Linked DNA regions of Homo sapiens: region 1 is linked to region 2. Evidence: promoter capture Hi-C in 16 types of primary human blood cells and fetal thymus (Javierre and others, 2016). All regions are on one chromosome and are shown on one strand. Each heading gives the region's core, a stretch centred on a gene start or on the middle of the fragment in contact. The rest is flanking DNA. Distances are from core to core; before and after follow the strand shown.

What was found. The method cuts DNA at HindIII sites, captures the fragments that hold promoters and counts their contacts. A CHiCAGO score of 5 or more calls a contact.
Region 1: a fragment that was not itself captured here is called in contact with the fragment with the promoter of TAS2R39 in region 2 in 2 of 17 cell types (M2 macrophages and monocytes); the score reaches 5.3 in M2 macrophages.

Annotation. Positions count from the first base shown.
Region 1 is chr7:143,062,753-143,065,955 of GRCh38, reverse strand. It overlaps the pseudogene OR6W1P. Among named protein-coding and RNA genes, the nearest start is that of OR6V1, 12 kb to the right of the region's middle. The HindIII fragment of the contact is 3,354 bases long and covers 1-3,078 here.
Region 2 is chr7:143,181,978-143,185,072 of GRCh38, reverse strand. TAS2R39 (taste 2 receptor member 39) reads right to left here and starts at 1,654. Exons shown (of 1, transcript NM_176881.2): 1 at 638-1,654. The coding sequence starts at 1,654. The coding sequence ends at 638. The HindIII fragment of the contact is 8,536 bases long and covers 1-3,095 here.

The sequences.
Region 1 (3,203 bases), core at 152-2,651, 120 kb after region 2:
AGGAAGAGATTATTGTTGTTAATTTTTTTATCACTAAAATAATATATGAAGAGAATTCAAATTTAAATGAAGAGAATTTGGAAATGAATGTGGACATATAGAAGAACAGAGGGTACAAGGTTTCAGTTGGGCAGGAAGAATAAGTTCTAGCGAACTAATGTTCAGCATGGGGATTACAGGTAATGATACTGTATTGTATACTTGACATTTGCTAAGAGGGTAGATCTTAGGTCATCTCACTACATGTGAAAAATGGTAACTATATGAAGAGATGGATATATTAATTAGCTTGACTGTCGTAATAAGTTTACTATGTATATTTCTATCCAAACCTCATGATATACATTTCATATGGTTTGGCTGTGTCCCCACGCAAATCTCATCTTGAATTGTAGTTCCCATAATCCCCACATGTTGTGGGAGGGACCCAGTGGGAGGTAATTGACTCATGGGGGTGGTTACCTCCATGCTGTTCTCGTGATAGAGAGTAAGTTCTCACGAGATCTGATAGTTTTATAAGGGGCTTTTTCACTCCTGTGCTCTGCACTTCTCCTTGCTGCTGCCATGTGAAGAAGGACGTGTTTGCTCCCCCTTCGGCCATGATCATAGGTTTCCTGAAGCCTCCCCAGCCATGCCAAACTGTCAGTCAATTAAACCTCTTTTCTTTATAAATTACCCAGTCTTGGGTGTGTCCTTATAGCAGCGTGAGAACAGACTAATACAACAGTTTAAATATGTATAATTTCAATACAAGATTTTTAAAAGTAAACTCCTATAACCCACACCCAGATATAGCCATTGTTAATATTTTAAAATGCATCCTTTTACTCTTTTTCTGGATGAAGATAGATGGCTAGCTAGTTTGATTGATTTTGAAAGTAATTATAAATGAAATCTCATTGTTACAGGTTATTTTTATTTATTTATTTATTTTTGAGATAGAGTGTTGCTCTTGTTGCCCAGGCTGGAGTGCAATGGCATGATCTCAGCTCACTGCAACCTCCACCTCCTAGATTCAAGCGATTCTTCTGCCTCAGCCTCCTGGGTAGCTGGGATTACAGGCACACACCACCACACTCGGCTAATTTTGTATTTTTAGTAGAGATGGGGTTTCTCCATGTTGGCCACGATGGTCTCGAACTCCCGACCTCAGATGATCCACCCGCCCTCAGCCTCCCAAAGTGCTGGGATTACAGGCGTGAGCCACCATGCCCGGCCTTGTTACAGATTATTAAAAACAGTTGATTGACACAATAACTTAAGAAAATAAAATATAATAGCAGCATGGTGCCTGGATAGGTTGGTGATTGAGCAATCTACCAATAAAAAAAAAATTAAGAGTGTTGTTGCAATGGTTAAGAGGAAACAGATCCTTGAACTAGGGTGGTGGATATGGATAAACAAAGGAGGGCTAGATGCTTCCAGTTTCCAGCCCAGATGACTGGGGAATTGGGAGCCATAAACATGGCCTTTGCGGGAGGGGAGGACTAGGTGTGTATCTTTAGATGTGTTGAATGTGTGGTGGTGGTCAATCTGGTGGTTAGAGATGTGGGCCGGGACTCAGAGGAGGACAAAATCCAGATTTGAAATTCATTTACATTTTAAAGATTGCTTTGGTTAAAGAAGGTGAGATTTCTGAAGGAGAAAATAGAGAATTTTTTTAAACAAAGATAAGAAAAGAAATGTGGGGTCATCCATGTTTAGAAAATGGCAGAAAGACAGGGAGCTAGAGAAGGAGACAGACGAGGGAACCCAGGATGGTAGGAGAAATTCAAGAGTGCAGGGTCCTTGCAGTCAAGGGTGGAAGTCACTTCAAAAACGGGTTATTTGTAGCCTGAAATGTTATAGAGAAGAAAATGTTATAGAGAAGAAAAGAGGATGAAGATTCAGCAAAAAAGATGGAAGGAAATAATGTGTAAGGTATCTAGCGCATCTTCTGGCACAGGGAAAGAACAGTAAATATCAGCTATTATTTGAACAACAGACCATTACATTTGGCAGTTAGGAAGTGTTTACCCCTTCATCCTCAGACCCAGCCAAATGTCTTGCACAGAGTTGGAGCTTATTAAGTGTGTTGTACAATATAATCAATGAGTAGAAGACAGAAGAGGAAGAGCTTAAGAATGGTGATAATGTAGAGGTGGCCAAGTCATAAATCTGCTCATCCCAGCCAGTAATCCATTCCTCGCCCCAGGGAAACTCCTGCCTTTTGGGAATGTGTCTCCTGGGGTCAACTGTGCACACAGGCTAGTGTGCATGGGGAGCCAGGCCAGCACTATGGGGACCTGATTGAGAGAGAGGTTGATGGCAATCTCCTGCTAACAGTTCTCAACCTCTCACAGGTGTCACATAGAATGGGCATCAAGTGCAATGGGTAACTACAGCATTGTCAGGGAGTTTGTGCTCCTGGGATTTTCTTTTTTTTTTTTTTTTTTAATTGATCATTCTTGGGTGTTTCTCGTGGAGGGGGATTTGGCAGGGTCATAGGACAATAGTGGAGGGAAGGTCAGCAGATAAACAAGTGAACAAAGGTCTCTGGTTTTCCTAGGCAGAGGAGCTCCTTGGATTTTCTTATCTCCATGAGTTCCAGGTTCTGCTGTTTGCTCTGATCCTGTTGATATATGTGCTGATGCTGCTGGGCAACCTGGCCATCATCAGCTTCATTTGCCTTGATTCCCGCCTTCACTCACCCATGTACTTCTTCCTCTGCAACTTCTCCCTCATGGAGATGGTGGTCACCTCCACTGTGGTACATAGGATGCTGGCAGACCTGCTATCCACTCACAAGACCATGTCCCTGGCCAAATGCCTAACCCAGTCTTTCTTTTACTTCTCCCTGGGCTCTGCCAACTTCCTGATACTCATGGTCATGGCCTTTGATCGCTACGTGGCCATCTGCCACCCCCTGCGCTACCCAACCATCACGAATGGTCCAGTGTGTGTGAAGCTGGTGGTGGCCTGTTGGGTGGTTGGTTTCCTCTCCATTGTCTCTCCCACACTGCAGAAAACACGACTCTGGTTCTGTGGCCCTAACATCATCGGCCACTACTTCTGTGACTCTGCCCCGCTGCTCAAGCTTGCCTGCTCTGACACCCGCCACATTGAGCGCATGGACCTCTTCCTGTCCCTGCTCTTTGTGCTGACCACCATGCTGCTTATCATCCTCTCCTACATCCTCATTGTGGCTGCAGTGCTGCACATCC
Region 2 (3,095 bases), core at 405-2,904:
ACAAAACCATGCTTAGAAAAAATTCTTAGTAATTTTTAGGATGAAAGGTGTTTTATGCATTATTAATTTTGATAAATAGTTCCACATTATTTTGGTTATATCTTTGAAAGATGGAGACAAAATGCATTTCAAACTTCTGCTCAGAAAACTTCCCAAGTTATCTAAATGTGTTTAAAAGGCATGTGGAGGGAGAAAGAGAGTTGTCAGGAACTAGTTTCAGAACATTCTTCTATTTTGGTGGCTATACAACCCTGCTGCACAGCAGAATCACCTGGAGATCTTAGAAAATTGTGTGAGTTCTAACACTAGAAATTCTGACTTAATAGATCTGAGATTGGGTTTGAACATTGGTATTTTCAAAAATCAACCTAGAGATTCTAATGGGTAGCCAGTGCTTAGAATCACTGCTTTAAACAGAGCAAGGGGAGGTAGAGGGCTCAGGTAAAGAATATGACAGTACCACTAAGATTGTACCCATGAAGCAAAAAAGAAATGATCAATTTCCTATATAAAAAGCCACATCAGGCGAAAAGGGTCAGATGAGGGTTGGAGAAGAAAAGAAGAGAGAAAAGAGAGGTCTAGGTGAGGGAATGGCAGAGCTGGTAAGGCCAGGTCCTGTGGTCTTCTTGGGTGCTGGTCACAGAGTCCACTCTTTTGGGTAAAGATGAAGTCGAAGCTGAAGCCGCTTCCAGGCTCTTCTCAGCCCAGGGTTATCTTGAATCAGTAGAATTGAGTGGCTGGCAGGGTAGGCAGCCATGATGATCTGGCACAAATTATTCCACAGACTGTTGATGTCAAACATGTTGGACAGGTAGATAAACAGAGCAACTGCATTGAAAATGTAGAGAATGAGAAAGTAGCTGATAGCTTTGATGGCCCCCATGTGAGCCTCCATGCTGGGGTCGTTGGACCCTGTGGCATTGCTTCCCATGTGTAGGGTGTGTCTCTTGAGAGAGAGGATCAGCAGGGTGGCTGTCAGGATGAACATGATCAGAGGAGTCACAATCCCCAGGTTAAAGAAAAAAGCCAGACCGACCACATTGATCTCAGACAAGTATGTTTTCTTAGTGGAGTTGGAGGAGTGGATAGGGAAAGAATTGTTACAATACACAGTGCAGATGTTGATGCAGAACATGCTGTGACTGAAGGAAATAAACACGGACAGCCACAGAAGCCAGGGTATCAATCCAGTAATTCTCCACCTCAGTTTGAGGAAAAGGGGGTAGGAGAAATTGGCAATCTTCACAAAGTAGAAGAAACTGAGCCAGGCAGCAAACCACAGGCTACAAAAATTTAAGAATATAAAACTTATTTTGAATGCATAATATACAGCGTCTTCAGAATAAAAACTTAGGGAGGTTGAGCTGATGGTAATTTCTAACATCATGAGGCTTTGGAGAGCTATTCTGGATACACTCAGGAAAACCAGGATCCTGCCACTTGTGGAAACTGCCTTATTTTGAACCCATTCAGCTGCATGTATAGCCATGATGAAACCATTTGCAATGATACCAATGAGGTATTCAGCAAGTAAAACTGCTAAAATTAAGGTGATGAGAAATGGCGACAATTCACTTTCTGCAGGATCGCAGAGTTTAGTCATTCTGAGCTGTTGCTTCTCTTTGGTGTCTGGAGGAAAACATCTCCCTAGCATTTGATGGGCAGACTCTTGATAACTCCCAGTATTGATGTCATAGGAGGAAGCAATTGATGTATCATTTCCAAATTCACTGCATTTGTTTATTTCAGAATTCTTAGCTCTACATCTAGAGATGCAAATGTTGGAAGGATTTGGTTTCTAATCCTCTCTCTATTTTTGAACATGTTGGTAGTGGTTCAATAATGAGGCCCAGGGAAGCGCTTGAGTAGACTCTTTAAAAGCAGCTAACATGGTACTGAGGTCCGTGTTCTTTGGTAGCATCAGTTAATTTGAACATTGGTTAACTGAGTCATCATTTAACTTACTTTCACTTGTGACTGCAGAAAATGATTGAAAATAAAAACTGCTACACACATACACACACACACACGCACTTCTCATTTTGTGCTAAGAAATTTTCAAATGATTTATTTATAATTACTACATTTAAACCTCACAACAACCTTATGAGCATGTGCTTCTATTACCTCCATTTTGCAGATGAAGAAACTAAGGCATACAGAGGTTAAATAACTTGGCCAACATCACACAACTAGAGCGTGATAGAACTGGGATTCAAACCCAAGTCACCTGGTCGCAGAGTTCCTCCTCTTATCCACCATGTTATGCTACCTAGACCTGTGGATTCTTTTGTGTGCCCAAGACTAAATGCAGGGTTGATTCCACTATGACATTTTTTTCCTGGTAGCCTTTTATGTCCCCACCCTCTAAAGAAAAATCAATAAAGCAAGAAGACACTGATTTTTAAGAGATAGGACTCTCTTTTCAAAGTAGATTACTTGAGAGGTAATAAATTTAATTATACATAAAAGATCATACACACACACACACACACACACATATTCACCTTTCATTTTAAGCAAAACTAGGAAAATAAGAGTTGAAGGTAAAACTCCCTAGTTCCTAGCAAGGTAAGCTAGCGAACCTGAGAATAAAAGCAATGTCCCAATTCATCCAATTTTGGAATATTAAAACAAAAAGAAAGGAAAAAAGAATCACTTTTATCTTAAGGAATTTTTTTCTGATTTTAAAACGCAAGCATAGGACACATAATGATAAAATGGACTTTTCATTTCAGGGTAAATTAATTTTTATGAATGTATGTAACTTTAAAATAATGATGAAGTAATAATTCTAATAAAGAGAAAGTTGGTGGGTGAGAAGTCTCAGAAAATCTTTATAACATTTGGTTTTTACTTAAAGCCTTTTAAAAACAAGGCAAGAACTCATAAACGTTTTCTGGCTTGATTAATGATTTTAGATGAGTTGTTACGAATTTTACCATCTCATTTGAAAATCACTATTCCTGAACAAATATTTCCCTTGAATACAGCGTAATAGACAACTGCTCCTCTCTGCTTGTTTCTACCCATTTGCACAAGTAGGCCTGGAGTATCTCAGGACCTCCAGTTTGGTTTTAAAGAGGATTTTTCTT